Regions from separate parts of the Homo sapiens genome. Here region 2 is linked to region 1. The links are contacts of gene promoters, found by promoter capture Hi-C in human tissues and cell types (Jung and others, 2019). All regions are on one chromosome and are shown on one strand. The core of a region is centred on a gene start or on the middle of the fragment in contact, and the rest is flanking DNA. Distances in the headings are between cores, read along the strand shown.

What was found. Contacts are between HindIII fragments. The study calls those that stand out against the background at their distance.
Region 2: a fragment that was not itself captured here is called in contact with the fragment with the promoter of CP in region 1 in 1 of the 25 tissues and cell types used here (spleen).

Annotation. Positions count from the first base shown.
Region 1 is chr3:149,218,082-149,223,951 of GRCh38, reverse strand. CP (ceruloplasmin) reads left to right here and starts at 2,123. Exons shown (of 19, transcript NM_000096.4): 1 at 2,123-2,305. The coding sequence starts at 2,160. It overlaps LOC101927942 (a long non-coding RNA gene), which reads right to left and starts at 82. Exons shown (of 4, transcript XR_241588.4): 1 at 1-82. The HindIII fragment of the contact is 15,133 bases long and covers 1-5,870 here.
Region 2 is chr3:148,977,743-148,984,100 of GRCh38, reverse strand. No RefSeq gene overlaps it. Among named protein-coding and RNA genes, the nearest start is that of GYG1, 11 kb to the left of the region's middle. The HindIII fragment of the contact is 7,031 bases long and covers 1-6,358 here.

The DNA.
Region 1 (5,870 bases), core at 874-3,373:
ATGGTTGGTTGGTACAATTTGCTGAAACAAGTGACTCTGGGCATGGTTACGGTGCTCTGATCAACATCTTTCCATGCACAAGATTGGGGCTGAGTTTGAGCACTGAGTGAAAAATGAAAAGCAAATGGCTGAGACAGTTGCTGGTTCACATCGTGGCTTCATGCCAATTAGAAAAAGAACTGTCCCCCTTCTCCATGCCCTGGGGAGGATAAACGGCTGAAAAATGCCCCCCGTCTGTGTGGACCATTAGGGGAAAAGCAGCTTCTTGCAAGGCACAGGGTATGGCCGGTGGCATCTGAGCAAGATTTTAGTCCTTCGTCAGTCCTCTCAGTGGACATGACGGCACAATTGTTCAAGGCAGTCCTAGAAGGAGGCCTTGGGGCATCCTGGGCAACATGATTCAGTTTTCTGTACCAAGCCATTTAGTTAAGATTATTACCAGCTGGTGAGAGAAGCTCCTCCACTGTCTGCCTTAACATAGGTCATTTCAATTAACCTGAGATTTTCAGATGAGGAAACTGAAGCTGGGCTGAAGTATCTTACTTGAGGTCATTTGGTAGCATCAGATTTTTCCCTAGCACTCCTTATTCTCCTTCTCTGCTTTATTTTTCTCCATAGCATTCACCACTAATATTGTGTATTTCATTTTTCATTTTTATATTTTCAGTTTCCCCAAGTAGAATGTAAGTTGCATGATGGTAGGTGTTTTGTTCTCTGCGGTATTCCCAGTGAGTAGAACAGAACTTGGCACAGACTGCTGTATTCCCAGTGAGTAGAACAGAACTTGGCTCATTCAATAATATTTCCTAAATGAAGGAATTGTTCAAATATCGCATGCTTTCTTCTATACCAATCTATTTCAACAAGTGGCCTTCAGCAAATACACAACGTTTTGAGGTATTTGAGAGAAAAAAAATTATACTAACACAAAGTGTCAACTGTTATCAGGATTTTCTTCAGCTAAAAAAAAAAGCCATTTCATACTTTTAGACATATACTTCCTGACTAAAAACAGGGTTTTAAGAAAAAGTCTTCCACCTTAAAATTCATATCCACTTCAAAGAGAAAAATTTCAGTCTAATGATAAACTGGGGTACTTTCTATTTACTAAGACTAATCTTTGCCTCTGAAGACAGGTTTAGTTATGGTTTGTTTATTTGATGATTAAAACAAAGTTATTAGCCCCTGTTAGGCTCTGCTAGTTATTTGCATATAGCAATACAGAATGATCTGGTAAAGTTTTTATGCAGATTTGGTCCAAGCTCATAAAACAGATAAATTCTTCCAAATTAAATTCTTATTTTTGTTTACTTAAATTTGGCATGCTAGATATCATGTTTCATATCATAAAGCTGCAATTAATCATTTGTTAGACTTTTAGAAATAGTCATGCACCACATAATAATGTTTGAGTAAATGACAAACTGCATATGTGATGGTGGTCCCATAAGATTATAATAACATATTTTTACTGTACATTTTCTATGTTTGCATATGTATAGATACAGAAATATCATTGTGTTACAATTGTCTATAGCATTCAGCATAGTTATAGACTGTACAGGTTTGTAGCCTAGGAGCAATAGGTATACCATATAGCCTACCTAGATGTATAGTAGGCTATATCATATAAGTCTGTGTAAGTACACTCTGTGATAGTCACACAATGACAAAATAGCCTAACAATGCATTTCTCAGAACGTATCCCTGTCATTAAGAATGACTGTAGTAAAAAGCTACATGTTTTGATTCATTTTACATAATTCTTATCCTGATTTACTAAAAGTGCACTGTTTGCAGGACACTGTGCTGTGACATATTGTCAGAGGAACAAAGGGAGCATTTAGACACGTTCTCTGCCCTCCTGGAATTTACACAATGAATGGAAAAAGGCACAGAGTTATGCACACCCTAATGCCTCCAACAATAACTGTTGACTTTTTATTTTCAGTCAGAGAAGCCTGGCAACCAAGAACTGTTTTTTTGGTGGTTTACGAGAACTTAACTGAATTGGAAAATATTTGCTTTAATGAAACAATTTACTCTTGTGCAACACTAAATTGTGTCAATCAAGCAAATAAGGAAGAAAGTCTTATTTATAAAATTGCCTGCTCCTGATTTTACTTCATTTCTTCTCAGGCTCCAAGAAGGGGAAAAAAATGAAGATTTTGATACTTGGTATTTTTCTGTTTTTATGTAGTACCCCAGCCTGGGCGAAAGAAAAGCATTATTACATTGGAATTATTGAAACGACTTGGGATTATGCCTCTGACCATGGGGAAAAGAAACTTATTTCTGTTGACACGTAAGTCACTATTTTTATTGTTTATAGACCAAAATTTTAAGTTATTTTTAAAGGATAGAGCCAATAAGATGAAATATTTTTAAAATTTCTTATATACAGAAACTGCAAAATGTGGGCTTGAAACCCAAGACACTTGAATCAATCTCCTTTATATTCCTGTATATTTTTTATTTGGTGGACTACCCTGCTTCTTTCCTGTTGTTCCTGGGGATCTGTGTTCACATCTTACTACCTCCCATGGTCGTAACTGCATCTCCGATTAGGAATCTGTCTTTTTATGTGTTTATGCAGAAGTTCTTTCATTTAAACAATTACTGTATACAATGTTATGTTTATTGCACCATTTAATGGTTATTCATGATAGGCATAAAATTTTTTTATATCTTTCAAAACATCACTTATAGAAATAAAATACAATTTTAGCAAATAAGATCCTGCCTGATATTTATTGAGAGACTCCAGACAGTTAAGTAGGTTAATCTTTCACAGCTTCAGGGTCCTAATTTGTAAAATGAGGATAATAAGCATAGCTCATAGGGTTATTTAAAGAGCGGGTGCATGTAAAGCTCTTAGTACAATGCTTGGCACATATGTGCATAAAAAAATGTCAGGTACTTATTAGGATGGTCCTCAAAAAGCTCCATGTAACTTAAATGTCTTCATTTTTCAGTTGGAAAATCCCCTTATTGAAAGCAATATTCACTACACAGTAAAACAAAAAGTTTAGTTCTCCTTGAAGTTTTTTGTACAGAAGTTTATCTATACTGAGGTCTTCACTTTTAATGATGTTAATTAAACATTAACCACCAAATGGGAACTTGGAATTCAAAATCAATATTCACTACATTAAAATGTATTTCAGTGGTAATAAAACACAAACAAGCCCAATGACCATCAGCTGCCAAGATTATATCTTTAAAAAACAGCTAAATAAGGATGCCGAAGTTTGTAATTATTGAATCTTATTGATGAGTATATACTATTTTCTTTAACATTATGTAAAGTTGAAATTTTTCACCATAAAAATAAATACATAACAGATACTAATATCCAATTATTATATTATGAATTTAATAATATACAATAAAGAAAGTTTCTGACCTGAAGATAAGTGGTTGTAAATAAAACTAATACATCTTGTAATTATTTCTTTTTTAACCTGGTTTTAAGGTGGTATTATCTTCTAAGGAATATGACATATTTTTACAGCTTCACCAGAAACATTATTTTGCATGGATTCAGTATTTTCTTGATTAAATATAATATAAATTATATGTGGTTTTTATTTCCAAGGAAAAAGTCAGACACATTAAAAAAATAAAAATACTATCCTTCTCTATGCCCCCACTCACCACCACTCTGCCATTGTTCGTGATCAAAAATCAAATCAGCTTTATCAGGCATAAACTAAGTGCAAGACATTGCCCTGAATATGCTTCAAAAAAAAATCTTTAATTCTAAAAATCAGGGAGTAGAAGAGTGAAGGAGTTTGTTTAGAATTTGGTGAATGGGGGCGGAGGAAATTCCTTTGTTTTTAATTACTCCTGTGGCCTGTCTGTGCCAGGGAAGCTACCCAATGAGTATAAGCCTGTTTACCCCATTGTGACTATATTAGTCTCTTCTTATGCTGCTAATAGAGACATACTCAAGACTGAGTAATTTATAAAGAAAAAGAGGTTTAATGGACTCACAGTTCCACATGACTGGGGAGGCCTCACAATCATGGTGGAAGGCAAAGGAGGAGCAAAGGCATGTCTTACATTGCAAACTTTCCCATACCTTCCTGTCATCTGAGCCCTCCAAGTCTCTAGGAAGTTCCAAACTTTCCCACATCTTGCTATCTTCTTCTGAGCCCTCCAAACTATTCCAGCCTCTGCCTGCTACCCAATTCCAAAGTCACTTTCACATTTTTGGGTACCTTTACAGTAGTGCCCCACTCCAGGTACCAATTTACTGTATTAGTCTGTTCTTACACTGCTAATAAAGACATACTCAAGACTGGGTAATTTATAAAGAAAAAGAGGTTTAATGAACTTACAGTTCCACATGGCTGGGAAGGCCTCACAATCATGGCAGAAGGCAAAGGAGGAGCAAAGGCACGTCTTACATGGCAGCAGCCAAGAAAGAGCTTGTGCAGGGGAACTCTCATTTATAAAACCATCAGATCTCATGAGACTTATTCACTACCATGAGAACAATATGGGGGAAACCACATCCATGATTCAGTTACCTCCACCTGGCCCCCTCCCTTGACATGTGGGGATTATTACAATTCAAGGTGAGATTTGGGTGGGGACACAGCCAAACCATATCAGTTACTTAAAAAGTATACTTAATAGAGATACTTAAGGCTCCTTAAAAGGAAAAATGGAGCATCTTCTAGTTGCAAAGTCCACCTCTCTTTTTGTTATTGTCCTGTGACTTTAACATCTCCTCTGGCTTCAACAATATGCTACAGTTTTGCAAACTCTAGGTGGGACTGCTTTCTCTGTGATTTTTTTCCCCCATATATCTTACCAGTGAATTTTGAATACAGCTTCAGCAATTTTGCCAATACTATGCTAAACTTTTTGCATAGATGTGTGCAGATAGCAACCTTTTGGTCCCTTCTTTGTCCCAGATTTGCAGCATGTTTAGCCCAGTCAGTGAAGGATGATGGAGTATCACAAGACATGGTTGGCACTTCTTATCGTATGATGACTAAAAAGGAGTGGAAATAAATGGGCTGAAGAATAAGATGTGAAAGAGTGTAATATGAATTTTAGGTAAAGAATCGAGTTTAAGCTGAATGTTGATCTTGAAGGTCTGGGATGATGAACAGGAAAATATGCATTGAGAGTACTAGTATATGCATATGCAAGTACTAGTGCTTGGTCACTAGTACCTAGAATATAGGAGACACTAAATAAATATTTCTGAATAAGTTTAAATGAGTAAATAAAAGATACATAGGAAGATAGGAAAAATCATAGACTGTATTGTAAAAACTTTTCCTTGCTCCTCATGTGGAGAGATTCATGCTATAGAACAAATCAGGTAACAGAATAAGATAGAAAAGTCACCTGAGGGGATTATATGCAGGGTTAGTGCAACTGAAAACACTGGCAGATATTAAAAGAGAAAAATGTATAGGTTTTGGGGGGGACTAAAAAAATAAAGTTTACTTCTCTGGTATTAATGCCAATAATATTTATTTCTAAAAGAGTGAAGTGGAAAATAATTTCCTTATACTCAGTACTGCTATTTACTTGGGTCAGTGCCTTATCTGTCACTTCAACACATCAGTAAGTAGTTAAAGACTTTATAAGAGATAATTCCTGATCCTAAGTTATATATATTCAAATTAAAATAAATGACATACATATAAAAACAATTAGTAAACACAATAGTGTGTTCTGGGTCCATAGTAGGCATTAGTTAATTATTTACTGAATTAATTGACTATATAATAGCAAAAATTATAGTAATTCTCTTATCTTCAGATTACTTTTTTTTCTGATGACCTCTAGGAAGCTGGAAATAAGTGAAAATTTTTTTAAGTATACGAACGGCCATCACAAAACTC
Region 2 (6,358 bases), core at 1,854-4,353, 240 kb after region 1:
GAACATGTTGGTGGACATTTGGGTAGTTTCCACTCTGGCTGGTATGAATAATGCTGCTGTGAACATTTGTGTTCAAATTTTTGCATTGACATATTTTTTTTCCTAAATATATACAAAGAGTAGAATTGCTAGATCATGTGGTAATTCTATGTTTAACATTTTAGGAACTGCCAGACTGTTTTCCAGAACATCTGTATCATTTTTCATTTCCACCAGCAATGTATGATGGTTCAAATTTCTTCGTTTCTTAGCCAACATTTGTTGTTGTCTGAAGTGATATCTCGTTGTGATTCTTATTTGCATTTCTCTAGTGACTTTTGATATTGATTATCTTTTCATGTGCTTACTAACCATGTGTACAACTTCTTTGGAGAAATGTCTATTCAAACCCTTTGCTCACTTTTTAATTGGGTTTACTTTGTTATTGAGTTGTAAAATTTCTTTGTCTAGACGCAAATCTTTTATCAGCTATATGATTTGCAAATATATTCTCTCATTCTGCGAGTTAACTTTTCATATTCTTGGTAGTATTGTTTGTAGCATAGAAGTTTTAAATTTTGATATAGTCCAATTTATTTTTCTTCTGTTGCTTCTGTTTTTGGTGTCATACCTAGGAAACTATTGCCTAACCAAAAGTCATGAAGATTTACTCCTATGTTTTCTTCAGGAGTTTTGTAGTTTTAGCTTTTAAAATTATGTCCATAGTCCATTTTGAGTTAATTTTTGTTAAGTTTTTTATGTTGTGAAGTAGGAGTTCAGGTTTTTTCTTTTGTGTGTGAACATTGAGTTGTTCCAATACCATCTGTTGAAAAGACTATTCTTTTCCCACTGAATTGTCTTGGCACGATTATGAAAAATCAATTGATCATAAATGTGACTAAATTCAATTTCTGGAATCAATTCTATTTCATTGATTTATATGTCAATCCTAATGTTAGTTCCACACCATCTTGATTTCTGTAGCTTTCTAGTAACTTTGAAATTTGGAAATGTGAACGAATTTTGTTCTTCTGAGGGCCGGGCACCGTGGTTCACACCTGTAATCCTAGCATTTTGGGAGGCTGAGATGGGTGGATAACCTGAGGTCAGGAGTTTGAGACCAGCCTGCCAAAATGGCGAAACACCGTCGCTACTAAAAATATAAAAATTAGCCGGGTGTGGTGGCTACTCTGGAGGCTGAGGCAAGAAGAGAATCACTGAACCCAGGAGGCAGAGGTTGCAGTGAGCCGAGATCGTGCCACTGCACTCCAGCCTGGGTGACAGAGCAAGACCCCATTTCAAAAAAAATTTTTTTAAATAAATAAATAAAAATAAAATCTTAAAAAATTTTTTCTTCTTTTTCAAGATTGTTTTGGCTATTCTGGGTAATTTGCATTTCCATATGAATTTTAGGGTCAGTTTATAAGTTTCTGAAACAAAGAAAGCTGGGCTTTTGATAAGGATTTCATTGAATTTGTAGATCAGTTTGGGGAGTATTGCCAACTTAACAGCTTAAACCTGCTTTTTTTTTTTTTTGAGACAGAGTCTTGTTCTGTCACCCAGGCTAGAGTGCAGTGGCGCGATCTTGGCCCACTGCAACCTCTGCCTCCCAGGTTCAGGTAATTCTCCCTGCCTCAGCTTCCCAAGTAGCTGGGATTACAGGCACCTGGCACCATGCCCAGCTAATTTTTGTATTTTTAGTAGAGACAGGGTTTCACCATGCTGGCCAGGCTGGTCTTGAACTCCTGACCTCAGGTGATCCACCTGCCTTGAACTCTCAAAGTGCTGGGATTACAGGCATGAGCCACCGTGCCCAGCCTTACAGCTTATGCCTTCTAATCCATGAACATGGGATGTCTTTTTATTTACCGAGATAGTCTTCAGTTTCTTCCAATAATGCTTTGTAGTGCATTGCCTTTTTTTTTTTGAGATGGAGTCTCACTCTGTCGCCAGGCTGGAGTGCAGTGGCATGATCTCAGCTCACTGCAACCTCCGCCTCCTGGGTTCAAGTGATTTTCCTGCCACAGACTCCCGAGTAGCTGAGACCACAGGCGTGTGCCACCACACCCGGCTAATTTTTTATATTTTTAGTAGAGACGGGGTTTCTCTGTTAGCCAGGATGGTCTCGATCTCCTGACCTTGTGATCCACCCGCCCTGGCTTCCCAGAGTGCTGGGATTACAGGCGTGAGCCACTGTGCCCAGCCTGTGCATTGCCTTTTAAAACAGGTAACAAAACCCAAAATTGGGTCTGTTCGCTATATAAACCCCATGGGCATGACAACTGATTTTCATGTGTGTCAGATATTCTAAATTTATGCTGGTATCTAAAATCTGATTATCATGGAGCTTTATACATAGAGTAACATTGCTTTGGTCCTTCATAAGACAACTTTTACAAAACTGTACTTTGGCATTATCATTAGTAATAACTACCACTTAACCTGATACTAAGGTTCTTTTACATATTAACACATTTAACCTTTCCAGTGATCGAATGAGGCAGATATTCTGCAATCCCCACTTCAGAGATAAGGCACAGAGCTTGCCCACTATACTGTAACTGGTAGTTTGTACAGCTGTGATTTGAACCAGGGAGCCTGCTTCCCCAGTCTGTACAATTAAGCACTGTTTGGTAATATGTATGGGGTGTCCACTGCTCAAAAGCTGCAAAAGGGTATGTGTACAATGAAGTAACTCTTATCTGCCACCTTTGTCCTCCAGCCACCAGGTTCTCTTTCCTAGAGTGGCATTCTGTTCTTGGCTTTCTCTGTGGCTCTAAGGGTGCCTCAGAAATCTCACTATCATGGCTTTTCCAATGTGCCATTGAAGACATTCACTATGTTATGCAATTTCCTCTATTGAAAGATCCATGGGAAAATTGTCACACTGGTCATCATATCAAAAATAAATGTTGCATTTCCTTAACACTTAGATTTTTCTTTATTTCATAGAAACTTTGATGTTTATAAGTATATCAAACACATAGAATACATGTTTTCCTCTTTTGGGAGGCCAATTAGAAACTTGGAGCAAAATTTGTAGCCACTTCTAGTCATTATTTAGGCTCTCTACCCTGCATTTATTTATCTATGCTTTAACTTTTTTCCCATTATTATACTTGCCTCACTTATTTATGAAGTTGTTTGAGATCCTTTGGAAGTAGGAGGGAATGGGGAGTTAATTAGTAAATAATTAAATGATAAGAGGGTTTCTAGTGGGAGTAGAACGGAAAGATGAAATTCAGCTCAATTTCGGTGACTTTGGAGGTTTTTCTAGTGATTTGTTAGTAAAATGAATATTTCATAAATTAAAGAGGCATAGTTATTGATCCAGACACGGGAATAATTTTCTGTAATTAGTTAAAATCCTGGGCTGGGCCCAGGGGCCCACGCCTGTGATCCCAGCACTGTGGGAGACTGAGGCAGGAGGATTGCTTGAAACCAGCCTGGGTGACACTGCGAGACCCAGTCTCTACAAAAAATAAAAAATTAGCTGGGTGTGATAGGGTGTGATGGTGGGTGCCTATAATTCCTAGGGAGAGGTTTAGTTGGGAAGATTTTTTTTGAGCCCAGGAGCTTGAGATTATAGTGAGCTATGATAGTGCCATTGTCCTCCAGCTTGGGCAACAGAGCAAAAACCTTGTCTCTAAAAAAATAAAAAGAAAAATACAGTGAATGCTTGATCTTTTCATCTTACTTTTATTACGTGTTCTGCCGGTAATGTAATAACAACATGATAGTGGTCAAAAAGAAGGATAAGATTGTCCAGGATCTCTAACTCTCAGTCCTTCAAATATATTTCACCTTTCAAACTTTGGTTACCATATTTGTGATCTTTTAGTTCATGGGTTAAATCATTTGGCAGTTACTTTTTCTTTAAAATCAACTTTATTGAAATAAAATCTATATACAATAAAAGTCACTTTTTAAAAGTAAAAAATTCAATGAGCTGTGATAGATATAAACTATCACCACAGGTATAACCATCTCCACAATCATTCACAAAACTTCCCTCTCTGCCTTTATGGTTAATCCCATTCCCTGTCCCCTGGCAAATGTAGCTCTGATTTCTGTCCATATAGATTTGCCTTTTCAAGAATTTAATACAAATGTAATAAAAGAGTATGTAGTCTTTTGTGTCTGTTTTTTTTTCTCAGTGTAATGCTTTTGAGATTTATTCATGTTGTTGAACGTATCATTGGTTCATTCCTTTGTATTGCTGAGCAGAATTATTTTGTGTGCATATATCACAGTGTATTTATTCACTTGCCAGAAGATGGACATTTGCAGCACTGTTTGTGCCAATATAAGATATGCAAACAACCTAAATAACCGTTAATAGGGGTCAGGTTAAATAAACTATAATATATCCATGCAATAAAATACTATGCTATGCATCTGTAGAAAGCAATAATAATAATGACTGCTCTTAATGTCTATGATAGAATGTTCTCCAAACTATATTGTAAAAGAAAAAAATAAGGTACCTGCGACAGACTAGGAATAGAGGGGAACTTCCTCAACTCAATAAAAAACATCTACAAAAAACCTACAGCTAACATCATACTTAATGGTGACAAATTGGAAGCTTTGCTCCTATGATTAGGAACAAGGCAAGGCTGTTCTCTCTCAATGCTGCCTTTCAACATTGTGCTGAAAGTCCTAGCAACAAGAGGAGAAAATAAAATCAAAAGTATGCAGATTGGGAAGGAATAAGTAAAACTGGTTTTGTTAAAAAATGACATGATTATACAGAAAATTCAAAAGAGTAGACAAAATGACTCCTAGAACTAATAAGCAATTATAGCAAGGTTGTAGGATACAAGGCTAATATATAAAAATCAATCACTTTCCTATATATCAGTAATGAACAAGTAGAATTTGAAATTAAAAACATAATGCCATTTACATTAACACCTTCAAAAATAAAATACTTGGGTTGAAATCTAAGAAAGTATGTACAAGATCTATATGAGGAAAACTTGATGAAAGATATCAAAGAATAATTAAATAAATGGAGAGATAGTCCATGTTCATGAATAGTATCTCAGTCTGTGCTGCTATAACAAAATATGATAAGCTGAGTAGCTTAAAAACAACAGAAATGTATTTCTCACAGTTCTGGAGGCTGGGAAGTTGAAGATTAAAGAATTAGCAGAGATAGTGTTTGGTGACGGCTTGTCTCCTGGTCCATAGATGTTGCCTTCTTGCTGTCTTCTTCCATGGTGGAAGGGATGAATGAGCTCTCTAGGAACTATCTTATAATAAAGGGCACTAATCCCTCATGGCCTAATATCCTCCCAAAAGGTCCCATCTCCTAATACAATCACTTTGGGGGTTAAGATTTGAACTCTTGAATTCTGTGGCAACACAAACATTCAACTATAGAGGATAAGAAGACTCAATATTATCAAGATGTCAGTTTTTCTGAACTTGATGTATAAATTCAATGGAACCCCAATAAAAATCTCACTAAGTTATTTTCTATCAACAAACTGATTCTAAAGTTTATAGAGACAGGCAAAAGACCCAAAATAGCCAACTCAATATGAAGGAGAATAAAGTTGGAGGACTGACTTCAAGACTTACTATTAAATCAAGACAGTGTGGTATTGGCAAAAAACAAACAAACAAAAACAGACACATAGATCAATGAAACAGAATAGAGCGCTCAAAAATATACCCACGTAAATATAGTCAACTGATCTTTGACAAAGGGGCAAAGGCAATAGAGAAAAGATACTGTTTTCAGGAAATGCTGCTGGAACAACTGGACATTCATACATGAAAAGAAAAAGAATCCAGACATAGACCTTACACCCTTCCCAAAAATTAATTCAAAATGGATCACAGACAAATGAAAAATGTAAAATGCAAAACTATAGAACTCCTAGAAAAATAACATGGGAGAAAATCTAGATGACCTTGGGTTTGATGATAACTTTTTGGATACAACACCAAAGGCGCAATCCATGAAAGGAAGAATTGATAAGCTAGATCCCATTAAAATAAAAACTTTCTGGTCTTCAGAGAACGCTGTCAAGAAAATGAAAAGACAAACCACAGACTGGGAAATATTTGTGAGAGACATAACTAATAAACGACTGTATGAAAAATGTACAAAGAACTCTTACAGCCCAACAATGAGAAAACAAGCAACCTAATTGAAGAAATAGGCCAAACATCTTAACAGATGCCTCACCAAAGAAGATATACAGATAGCAAATAAACATATGAAAAGTTGCTCTACATCATATGTCATCAGAGAAATGCAAATTAAAACAACAACAAGATACCACTATATACCTATTAGAATGGCTAAAATCTGGAGCACTGACAACACCAGATGCTGATGAGGATGTGGAAAAATAGGGACTCT